Regions from separate parts of the Homo sapiens genome. Here all the other regions are linked to region 1. Evidence: promoter capture Hi-C in human tissues and cell types (Jung and others, 2019). All regions are on one chromosome and are shown on one strand. Each heading gives the region's core, a stretch centred on a gene start or on the middle of the fragment in contact. The rest is flanking DNA. Distances are from core to core; before and after follow the strand shown.

Region 1 (3,880 bases), core at 678-3,177:
CCTCCCCCTCCTGGGTTCAAGCGATTCTCCCGCCTCAGCCTCCTGAGTAGCTGGGATTACAGGTGAGCACCACCACGCCCGGCTAATTTTTGTATTTTTAGTAGAGACAGGGTTTCACCATGTTGGCCAGACTGGTCTCGTACTCGTAACCTTAGGTGATCCACTTGCCTCTGCCTCCCAAAGTGCTGGGATTACAGGGGTGAGCCACCATGCCTGACCCCTATTCGTTGTTAATACCTTTACAAACTCACCACATTCTGTCACTTGTAATCATTATTTGTGTCCCTGTTCATTTCTCATTAGGCCATAAATTACATGAGGACAGCAACCATATAGTTTAAGTTTCTATCTCCCAGAAAAGTTATCACAGTGCTTTAAATACAGCAAGCATAAAAATGTTGGCTAAATTCAACATTTGTTTGAGTGAGATGGAACAAGAAAACAGGGGCAGGGATAGGGGGAGTAACCCCATCAACTTCAATGCTGTACATTTTTACATCTATCCAATTTCCCCCATGCATGACCTGAAATACTTGGTGTAGAGTACCTGTTTTGCACAAAGGAGGCCACCTTACTGGAAAGAAGGCAGAGCATTGAGGAGGAACCAAGAGCAAGGAGAGGTGGGCACTTTAGGAACTGAGAACTAAAAATCAGCTCTCCATTAGTTGCTGTAAACGTTTAATCACTCTCAACATAAAATTTTCTGTGTGGTTAATAGAGTCAGACAGACCTGTTTGAATCCCAAATCTGACGCTCATTATTTGACCTTAGCCAAACTGGTTAACCAATCCAAGTCTCAGTTTCTTCATCTGCCAAAAGGGAACGATAAATGTATACTTGATACAGATGTGAGGGTGAAATGAGCTAACGTATGTGAAGCCCTCAGCACAGTGTCTGGCATAATAAAATAGGAGCTGTTCCTCTCCGTTGGAATAGTAGGGCAGGACTTGTGCAACACTGTGATGGGAAAACAAAGATAAAGGCAGAACAGAGTGCAACACATTAGGAACATTTCAGGGGAGGTTACCTAGAAGGGCCACTACATTCTTCTCAGGACTAAATCCCTCCTGACTGTTGTCTTCACCCCAATCCTGGAAAACTCACCGTCACCCCATATTTGAGTGCTAGTCCAGCCAGGGTGTCTCCGGGCTCCAACTGATGCTCCAGGCGTCTTTCCCTCACTGGGGAGCAGGCCGATTGCACCAGGCTTCCATATGAACGAGCCCGGCTCCCTTGAAGCAGTCCTGACCCCCCTGGCGGGGGCTGTCTAGACGGGGAAGCCATCTCTTCACCCTGCCAACAGCTAAGGTTGCAACTAGGGGAGGTACGACCGAGACTGCGACTGACAGGCCTGAAGTCTGGGAATGAATATTCAGGGGATTCCTTTCCCCCTCTCTCTTCCCCTGTGTCCCCGCCTCCCCAGCACTACGCCATCTGCCCCCTCCCGGTTTCTCCTCCCTCCAAGCTACTTATCCACAAATCTGTCCCTTGAGTATTCAGTCCCTCCCTAATTCTCCCCTAAGCACCCCTCCGACTTTGGACTCCCCCACAACTCCTCGCTACATTGACCTCTGACCTTTGAACTCTAGAAATAATCCTCAACACTCTTTCCTCAGTTTGCCCCCAAGTAGCCTGGCCTCAGGGCGCTCCAACATCCCAGCTCTCCCCGGTCCCGGGGTTTGTTTGCTAGAGTCAGGAACAAATCAGGCCCACCCCAGGTGAACTGTCGCCGCAGACGAAGAGCGTGAGGATTGCAAGAATTTGTAGTACACCTTCCACTCAGAGATCCTCAAAGGTCCGCTCCGCATAAGATAGGTCACACCCTCAAATTTCGGCTCCACATCTAGGTTGTTGTCCCTCCAAACGCCTCAGATCCGCCAAGATGCAAGGGCCTGGATCCAGTTGAGCGGCAAGGTCTTTGAGAAAAGACTTCATTTCCCAAAAGGCTCCGCGTCTGCGGAGTCGCAGGGCACCATAGGAAATGCAGTTCCCTCCGAGCACCAGAGAGTGGATTTCCGGATCGCGCAATGCATGCGTGGAAGTGCGTCCCCGGAAGTACGGAGGCCGACAGGAAGAGAAGGAAAAAAGAGAAGGCGCTGTCCCGCTCTTGCTACGGTGGCCTGGAGGAGTGGCGAAACCGGAACAGAGAATTTATCACTTCTGGGACTCACAGTCGTGATGTCTTTCAAGAGGGAAGGAGACGATTGGAGTCAACTCAATGTGCTCAAAGTAAGCGTGAGCGGAGAGGATCTGGAGCCGCTTCAGTCGCTCCCTGAAGGTTGGGAAGGAGCTTTGTTTCATTGCTCTGGCAACAACTCGGGGGTGCAGGAGAGAACCAGGCGACTTAGAGCTGTGTAGTGACTCCTTTTTCGGTCTATGATCGCTGTTCTCCCCAGGGTCCTTATTCCATTTCACTCCTCATTTCTATAATTTCACTTCCACCCCTCTCTCCTATCCCGCTGATCCCGTCCGGATTTCTTCCCCTACTCCCTGCAGAAAAGAAGAGTCGGGGACCTCCTAGCCAGTTACATTCCAGAGGATGAGGCGCTGATGCTTCGGGATGGACGGTAAGAGCAAGGAGTGGCTCAAGCCTGAGGGTTCTGCGGTTAGAGGCTCAATAGACTTTTTTTTTTTTTTCCTTTGAGACGGAGGTCTCGCGGTGCTGCCCAGGCTGCCCTCGAACTCTAGGGCTCAAGTGATCCTGCCTCCTCAGCGTCGCGATTAGCTGGGTTTACAAGCGCATGCCACCACGCCTGGCTTCAACAAACTTTTGTTATTAATTAGGACAGCAGGAGTACCTAGGATTCTTTGGCGGCCAGTGAGGACTGGAAGAAGTGGAGATTGGGTCACCAGGGAGTTGGGTTTTGCAAAGACTGCTAGGACAGGGTGGGACCTATGGCAGGGACGGGCCCAACCCTCTTCCCCTGGACCACTTATCCTCTTCTCTACCCCTGCTCAGCTTTGCTTGTGCCATCTGCCCCCATCGACCGGTACTGGACACCCTGGCCATGCTGACTGCCCACCGTGCAGGCAAGAAACATCTGTCCAGTAAGTTAGGGGGAAGACGGGATGGGGAATAAACCCTCGAAATCTCTGCACACCACTCTTGGTGCTATGCTTTTAATTCTGTTTCCCTTTCTCCTCAGGCTTGCAGCTTTTCTATGGCAAGAAGCAGCCGGGAAAGGAAAGAAAGCAGAATCCAAAACATCAGAATGAATTGAGAAGGGAAGAAACCAAAGCTGAGGTAATCAGAGAGTGGAGAGTGTGTTCTAGGCAAGACCCTGCTGCACACACCAGGCTGGAAGGGCGGAGGGCTGAAGGCTCTGACTCTGTCTCCCATCTCCTTACCAGGCTCCTCTGCTAACTCAGACACGACTTATCACCCAGAGTGCTCTGCACAGAGCTCCCCACTATAACAGTTGCTGCCGCCGGAAGTACAGGTATGGGACGGGAAAGCCAGAGGTAGGAAGGCTCAGAAGGAGACAGATGGCTCTAAAAGAGTTTTCCAGTGTGTATTCTGAGGAATACTAGTGTTCTGGAGATGTTACTTAGTGTTTCAAGAAAAGGAGAATTTTGGCTGGGCGCGGTGACTCACGCCTGTAATCCCAGCACTTTTGGAGGCTGAGGTGGGTGGATCACTTGAGGTCAGGAGTTCAAGACCAGCCTGGCCAACATGGTGAAATCCTGTCTCTACCAAAAATGTAAAAAATTAGCTGGGTGTGTGGTGTGTGCCTGTAATCCCAGCTACTCAAGAGGCTGAGGCAGGAGAATTGCTTGAATCCGGGAGACAGAGGTTGCAGTGAGCCACGGTCACACCACTTCACTCCAGCCTGGGTGACAGAGTGAGACTCCATCTCAAAAAAAAAAGAAAAGAAAGAAA
Region 2 (3,880 bases), core at 1,099-3,598, 230 kb after region 1:
GTCTCCCAAAGTCCTGGGATTACAGGCATGAGCCACCGCGCCCGGCCTGAGGTGGGCAGATTTCTTGAGCTCAGGAGTTTGAAACTAGCCTGGGCAACATGGTGAGATCTCTCCTGGTCTCTACAAAAAAATACAAAAATTAGGCCGGTCGTGGTGTCTCACGCCTGTAATTCCATCACTTTGGGAGGCTGGGGTGAGAGGATTACCTGAGGTCAGGAGTTTGAGACCAACCTGGCCAGTGTGATGAAACCCCATCTCTACTAAAAATACAACAACAACAACAAAAAAAAAATTAGCTGGGCATGGTTGTGCACCCCTGTAATCCCAGCTACTGAGGAGGCTGAGGCTGGAGAATCGCTTGAACCAGGGAGGCGGAGGCTGCTTTGAGTTGAGATCGTGCCACTGCACTCCAGCCTGTGCAACAGAGCAAGACTCCCTCTCAAAATAAGAAAAAAAGAAAAAAAACAAAAACAAAAATTAGCCGGGTGTGGCATCTGTAGTCCCCAGCTACTCGAGAGGTTGCAGCTGGAGGATCGCTGGAGCCGGGGAGGCAAGGGTCGCAGTGAGCCGAGATCATGCCACTGCACTCCAGCCTGGGTGACAGAGCCAGACCTTGTCTCAAAAAACAAACAAACAAAAGACACCTAAGGACAGTGTTGAGGATGGTATCCTCACCAGTCTCTGTGGGAGGATGGAATCCTAACTTCCATAAATGCCAGCTAGCAGACATCATTGACCTAAGCACATTTACATTGACTAATTCTGTAAATGTTCACTTCCCTGACTCTACTGACCCTCTGTCTCACTGTCCCCTAACCTCATTTTCCCTATAAAATACCCATTACTTGCATACAAATTGCAGTTGAGTTCAGTTCATGCTGAACTGTTTTTCCTTATTGTAGTAGTTATTACTGATTGAAATCTGTCCTTTCCACTTTAGTGTCCGGCTTTGTTTATCTTTGACAAAATTCACCAGTTTGATTCAAGACAGTTTCCAGCCCCTGCTATGGAGTTACACTGAGAAGGAAACCCCTGGAATTTAGTTTCACCCCTACACTTCCAATGGAATTTTTCTGTTTCTTTAGAGGTGGGCAAGGGCCCTTGACAATAAGGAAACTTTCAGACTTGTCTAAGGTCCCACAGAGAGTGCTTGATCCACCTGAGCTATCACACCCCACAGGGTATACACAAGTGTATTCTTTTTTTTTTTTTTTTTTTTTTTTTTTTTGTGACAGGGTCTCGCTCTGTTGCCCAGGCTGGAGTGCAGTGGCGCCACCTTGGCTCACTGCAACCTCCCTCGGGTTCAGGCGATTCTCCCACCTCACCCTCCCAAGTAGCTGGAATTACAGGCCTGGCTAATTTTTTGTTTTGTTTTGTTTTGTAGAGGTGAGGTCTCACCATGTTGCCAAGGCTGGTCTTGAATTCCTGGGTTCAAGTGATCCTCCCGTCTTGGCCTCCCAAAGTTCTGGGATTACAGGCATGAGCCACCGCACCCGGCCCTGATTCCTTTTTTTATTCTAGCTTCAAGATTCAGTTCTACCGTTATCGGCTGTGTGACTGGGTAAATCACTACACCGCAAGCCTCGGTTTCCTATTTACCAAATGGGTCGAATAATGCCTGCCACATGGGGCTGCTCTGAGGAGTACAGATGTAAGAGATCCTGTGTTCACTGATATTTTCATGTGGGCTTTTTGATAATGATACAAAAGGAACATGAGAACTGTGACTTCTAGGCCGGGCGAGGCGGCTTACTCCTGTAATCCCAGCACTTTGGGAGTCCGAGGCAGGCGGATCACCTGAGATCCGGAGTTCGAGACCAGCCTGGCCAACATGGTGAAACCCCATCTCTAGCAAAAATACAAAAAATTAGCCAGGCGTGGTGGCAGGCGCCTGTAATCCCAGCTACTCGGGAGGCTAAGGCACGAGAATCGCTTGAATCTGGGAGGCGGAGGTTGCAGTGAGCCGAGATCGCGCCACTGCATTCCAGCCTGGGGGCCAGAGCGAGACTCCGTCTCAAAAAAATAAAAAATAAAATAAAAAATTGTGACGTCTCACTCAGGATCAGCGTCTTTAAGTGGCCACCTCCCCACCCCACCTTCATGCCTCCCTCCTCCTTGAATCGTGTGTTAGAACGCTGTGATCTGGTCCAAACTCCACGGAGATGCGATGCGATGCGAAGCGATGTTGGGCAATTTCAACTCCCTGTCTCGGTCGCCACCTAGGATTACTGCATGTTCAGCTACGACCTCATCAACATGGCTGCTGGAAGTCGTCTACAGGAAAAAGAAAGAAATGACACTGAAGGATCACTTCCGCTTCCGTTGGCGCAAGCGCTTTCATTTTTTCTGCTACCGTGACTAAGATGGAAGCGTTTTTGGGGTCGCGGTCCGGACTTTGGGCGGGGGGTCCGGCCCCAGGACAGTTTTACCGCATTCCGTCCACTCCCGATTCCTTCATGGATCCGGCGTCTGCACTTTACAGAGGTCCAATCACGCGGACCCAGTAAGTTCTCGGCGCTTTCGTTTGCGTAGCGGGAGGGACCGTGGGGCCTGGTGCTGCCGGCTGGTTTTGAGAGCCCGGGAAGGTGAGGCGGGGACCCCGGGGGCGCGCGAACGGCAGGGGAGCTCAGGGCGCGGAGTCCTGGAGAATGCAGAATAATTGGAAGGAATTATAGAAAATCAGAAGCGCAGCTCAGTGCGCGGAAAGAGGGCGCAGTCCATCCCCCCTCTCAGCTCCCACCGTTCTCACTCTTTAGGAACCCCATGGTGACCGGGACCTCAGTCCTCGGCGTTAAGTTCGAGGGCGGAGTGGTGATTGCCGCAGACATGCTGGGATCCTACGGCTCCTTGGCTCGTTTCCGCAACATCTCTCGCATTATGCGAGTCAACAACAGTACCATGCTGGGTGCCTCTGGCGACTACGCTGATTTCCAGTATTTGAAGCAAGTTCTCGGCCAGATGGTGTAAGTCATCCAGAGAACAGGAGAGTGGTTCCCAAGTAGAGAGGGGAGTCCCCTGTTTTTTATTCCCTTCGATGGGATGGGGGGACTTGTTGCAGCGGGGGACTGGAAGAGTTGTTGGAGGTGGGCGATCTGTGTTTGCAATAAAGTTTTTGGCATTAGGTGTAAAATGGGGGAAGGTGTGGTAACTTCTTTTGGGGATGGGTGGAGACCCCGACTTAATTCTCTCCCTTTTCTCACAACCAATTCCTTTTAAGGATTGATGAGGAGCTTCTGGGAGATGGACACAGCTATAGTCCTAGAGCTATTCATTCATGGCTGACCAGGGCCATGTACAGCCGGCGCTCGAAGATGAACCCTTTGTGGAACACCATGGTCATCGGAGGCTATGCTGATGGAGAGAGGTTCATATGAATACAAATAACTTATTTCCTTTACCACCCAACCTAGTACCTGTGTAGTATCTCTTCTGTCTCTTCTCCCCAAGTGAATCCCACTTTAACTCAGACCCCATGGTCCCCTTCTTCAGCTAAGATGAATCTAAGGTGAAATGAGTTTTGACCCATTGTGTCCTGTTAGCTTCCTCGGTTATGTGGACATGCTTGGTGTAGCCTATGAAGCCCCTTCGCTGGCCACTGGTTATGGTGCATACTTGGCTCAGGTAAGTAGTAAGTCTAGAGGTGGGGGAAAGGGAAGACAAAAGGAAATGGATTAGTGGTTGTCTGCTTTTCTCCTGAAATTCTGATATGAGGGATGGGCTGGGATCGCTATTACTGGGCAGATGGTTTTCTTTGTAGTCTGGGGGCTGTAGGTGTTGACACTGATTCCAGTGACAAGATGACATGACTGGGAGTCAGTAGACATGCAAAGAGAGGACACCCTAGAACTTCTTCCTGAAGTGGCTCTTAGCTTATTTTCTA
Region 3 (3,880 bases), core at 874-3,373, 210 kb after region 1:
GAAGTCTGGCAAGAGGGGCCATGCTAATCTCCAGGATGTAAGTCAGCAGATGTGCAGTAGGGCTGGGACATCACAGCTACCAGCACCCCAGCATCAGAGTTTGGGGCCTGCTGGGGAGCAGGGGTTAAAGAATACCCAGAGGGGGTGGCAGGCTGAAAGAAACCCTGGAGTGGAGTCCACAGGCCTGGGCCCTGTCTCCTGCCTTGTCCTGTGGCCAGTCCAGCCTCTGCCTTCACAGCTGGGCCGCAAGTGGGGAGCCAGGAGTAGGCAGAGTGGGGCCTCCACTGGGGCCTGGGACTCCCACTCGCAGCAGCCAAGAGACTTAGGAAGCTGAGAGGCAGCAACAGCGTTCAGAGTCTGGAAACCTGGTTTCAAGTCCCAGTTTTGACGCCCCGTTTCTCCATTTTCTCCTCTTCATTTACGAAAAGTGGGCAATAATGATATTCTACCTACTTTGCTAGGTAGATATGGAGGACAAATAAGACAATGTATTCCAAAGGCCTTTCATAAAAATGAATTAGGCCGGGTGCGGTGGCTCATGCCTGTAATCCCAGCACTTTGGGAGGCTGAGGCGGAAAGATCACCTAAGGTCAGGAGTTTGAGACCAGCCTCACTAACATGGCAAAACCCTGTCTCTATTAAAAATACAAAAATTACCCTGTATTAAAAATTAGCCTGTATTAAAAAATACAGGCATACACCTGTAATCCCAGCTACTTGGGAGGCTGAGGCAGGAGAATCACTTGAACCTGGGAGGTGGAGGCTGCAGTAAGCCGAAATCACGCCACTGCAGTCACTCCAGCCTGGGCAACAAGAGTGAAATTCTGACTAAAAAAAAAAAAAAATAATGAATTACTGTGTAAATATGGGAAGGGCTGTGCCAGAGGAGAGGAGAATGCCAGGGAGTGCTCGATGCCCAGCGAGAGGGCTGGAGGTGGGGCAGGGAGAGAGAGAGAGGTCCAGTTCACAGGAGTTAAGGAGACTGGTTCTGTTACACAATCTTGCTAAGTCGGGGCTTGGCACCAGATGACAGGGGGTGGGGAAGGAGGTTGCTGGATACAGAAGGGAAAGGAGATTTTAAAACTCCAAGACCTCAAGACAGAGATACAAAAAATACAAAGCTAGGGAGAAGCTGAGAGGGAAGTAAAAGTGCAGAGATGGAGCTGCCCGCTCTGCAGCCTCGGCCCACCCCACACCCCAGCAACCCCAGCCCCAGCATTTCTTAGGGTCAGGCCTGGCATGCCACTGCAGCCCCAGGGAGCATCATTCCTCTTTCTGGGGAATACCCCCATCTGAAACATCTCAAGCAAGGTCTCGGAGCAGCTTTGGGTTTGGGATGGACTCATGGAAAGCTCAAGTGGGTTTTCCATGTCAGGCTGGCTGCTGGGCATTCTGCCAGCTCGGCATTCTGCCAGCTCAAGAGCCAGCCCCGAGCGGGGAAGGACCTCCCAACCAAACCTCAGTTCCTTCTTAGCCTGTCACCCAGAAGCCTACAGATGGAGGAATAGCAGGGCCAAGGGGGATTTAGGGGTGGGGGAGGCATTGAAACAGGTCCCCAGTGAAAGAGTGTGGGGGTCTCTGATTTCCCTCCCAGAGAGCTTTGCTGTGTGGAGTAGCTAGAGAGTGACCTGGGCACAGAAAGGCTTTGGACTCCCTACCTCGCTGGAGTACAAAGTTGGCCCATGGCTGAAATCAGGATCACCTCTCTACTATGTGAGGGCCAGGGACCTAGTGGTGTTTTCTAAGAGCGCCCATCTGATTTTCCCAGCTGCAGAAAGGCACCCTGGTCCCAGCCTCTGCTGGATGGAGCCAAGTCAGGGCCCAGGATCCCATCTCCCAGCAGTGCCTCTGCCCGTCTTCCTCAGAAAGTTTGGCTGAGCTGGGAAATGCAGTGGGGTGGTGGGGGAGGGGGTGTGCAGACTGGGGACAATGAAGCAGAGTCCACTACTCCCTCCCCAGCTCCCCACTCAGGTTTTCTAGCATTTTCTGGAGGAGGGCCTTCCAAATTAGGGGCAGACAGAGCAGGCAATGGGTGATTGGAAACCCCTCTCCTTACCCATGCTGCCGACTGGTACACTTTGATCCCGGCGGGTTTGCTGTGCTGGTGTCAGAGGCCGCTGTTCCGGGGAAGGAGCGAAGGGAGGGAATTTATACAACCAGCTGGGGGTGGGGCAGAGAAGGAGGAGGGCCCGGGCTGTAGCCCAGAGTAAACTACTCAGGGCAGCTGGCCAGGATACTCTCAAGTGGCCTAGGGCAACTGGTGTTTGAATTATGGGGTGTGCGTGTATGTGTTTAAGTGTGTATGTGTGGGAGCCTGTGCTTTATTTATTTATTTATTTATTTAGAGACAGGGTCTCACTCTTGCCCAGGCTGGAGTGCAGTGGTGCGATCTCGGCTCACTGCAACCTCTGCCTCCTGGGTTCAAGTGATTCTCCTGCCTCATCCTCCCGAGTAGCTGGGATTACAGGCACCCACCACCATGCCCAGCAATTTTGTATTTTTAGTAGAGAAGGGATTTCACCATGTTGGCCAGGCTGGTCTCAAACTCCTGACCTCAGGTGATCCACCCGTGTCGGCCTCCCAAAGTGCTGGGATCACAGGTGTGAGCCGCTGCCCCTGACCAGCTCGTGCTCTTTAGTGGGTGCCTGGGTGTGTGTGGATTTGTGTGTCTGGGCATGTGTGTGTTCCTGTATACCTGCGTGTTGCTCGTGCACGTGCCTGCATGAGTGTGTATCTGTGCCTGTGTGTGAATTTCCACGTGTGTGAATGTGCCTGTGAGTGTGCTTGTGTGTATTTGTGCGTGTGTGTGTGTGCGCGCCTCTGTATGTGCCTACCAGAGTATCTACGCCTGTGTGTGTGTGTGTGTGTGTGTGCGCGCCTCTGTGAGTATGTGCTTGCTAGAGTATCTACGCCTGTGTGGACATGTGCATAAGTGCTTGTGTATGTGTAGTGTGTGGCTATGTGGCTGTGCATGTGCTTGTGTAAGCCTGCGCACGTATGTGTTCCTGTGTCTCCAAATGCTCGTCTTTGTATTTGGACCTGTCTCTTAGCATTTAGGGGCACCCGGGACTGTGGGCCCATCAGCCAGGGTCACTTCTTCCCTAAGATTGCCCTCTTATTCCAGATATTCATACTCTTTGGATAAAAGCTCTGGGGTGAAGTTTTTATTGGCTAGGAAAAAGAATAAAGTCTGGGCTTGAGATTGCAAGTAGAATACAGGGTTTCCAAACCAGAGTGGGGGAAGGGGAGCAAAATTGGGCCTTGGTGCATTGGGTATCTGTCTTCCTGGCTCCCATCAGTGAGGGATCATGTGCCCATCAAGGAAGACTCCCTGTGGCTGCCCGGGGCAAGGGTCTTCTCTTATCCCCAGCGCCACTCAACCCCTCTTGGCTCCATCCTGCATCTATTATCCTCACCATTGTGCCATCAGCCTGCCAGGCATCAAAGAGAGTCTTGTGTGTGCAGCTGCCCCACGGGGAAGGCCCTGAAGGCTGCTTCCTTGTCTTTGCCAGCTTCCTCCTGTCCTGACTACCTCCACTCACCCTGCCTTCACCCTTCCCTCTGGCCCTCCCCTCTTCCTCCTCCTGAGGTCTCCATCTCCTGCCTCCTCTCTATTCTCCGGCTTCTTGGCTTGGGTTAGTCCACCACCCAAGATCTGAAAGAGAAAGAAACTTTATCCCCACCTTCTCATAAAAAATTATTGAGTCATTAACTTAAAAAAAAAAAGGCTGTTATTTTGTTTGTTGTGGTCTGTCATTGACTACCTCTTTCATGCTCCTGAGCTCTGACCTGGCTGGTCTCTGCAGCAACTCCATGGCACCCCTCACCTCTGCCTGTGGTTTTCTCCCTGAACTCTTGCTCTACAGCCAGCAGGTGGTTG

What was found. Contacts are between HindIII fragments. The study calls those that stand out against the background at their distance.
Region 2: a contact is called between the fragment with the promoter of PSMB4 here and the fragment with the promoter of LYSMD1 in region 1, in 1 of the 25 tissues and cell types used here (heart right ventricle).
Region 3: a contact is called between the fragment with the promoter of SELENBP1 here and the fragment with the promoter of LYSMD1 in region 1, in 2 of the 25 tissues and cell types used here (liver and stomach).

What each region holds. Positions count from the first base shown.
Region 1 is chr1:151,163,975-151,167,854 of GRCh38, forward strand. LYSMD1 (LysM domain containing 1) reads right to left here and starts at 1,928. Exons shown (of 3, transcript NM_212551.5): 1 at 1,105-1,928. The coding sequence starts at 1,284. TNFAIP8L2-SCNM1 (TNFAIP8L2-SCNM1 readthrough) reads left to right here. Exons shown (of 7, transcript NR_144937.2): 2 at 2,497-2,567; 3 at 2,960-3,048; 4 at 3,147-3,244; 5 at 3,352-3,440. SCNM1 (sodium channel modifier 1) reads left to right here and starts at 2,170. Exons shown (of 7, transcript NM_024041.4): 1 at 2,170-2,229; 2 at 2,497-2,567; 3 at 2,960-3,048; 4 at 3,147-3,244; 5 at 3,352-3,440. The coding sequence starts at 2,179. RefSeq lists enhancers at 1,410-2,115, 1,869-2,148, 2,116-2,822, 2,169-2,218. The HindIII fragment of the contact is 12,820 bases long and covers 1-3,880 here.
Region 2 is chr1:151,397,225-151,401,104 of GRCh38, forward strand. It overlaps PSMB4 (proteasome 20S subunit beta 4), which reads left to right and starts at 2,349. Exons shown (of 7, transcript NM_002796.3): 1 at 2,349-2,503; 2 at 2,757-2,963; 3 at 3,218-3,364; 4 at 3,540-3,621. The coding sequence starts at 2,364. RefSeq lists enhancers at 1,706-2,428, 2,029-2,078, 2,429-3,150 and a silencer at 2,919-3,076. The HindIII fragment of the contact is 13,788 bases long and covers 1-3,880 here.
Region 3 is chr1:151,370,582-151,374,461 of GRCh38, forward strand. It overlaps SELENBP1 (selenium binding protein 1), which reads right to left and starts at 2,124. Exons shown (of 12, transcript NM_003944.4): 1 at 2,057-2,124. The coding sequence starts at 2,060. RefSeq lists enhancers at 1-60, 61-731, 1,478-2,061, 2,062-2,645. The HindIII fragment of the contact is 19,764 bases long and covers 1-3,880 here.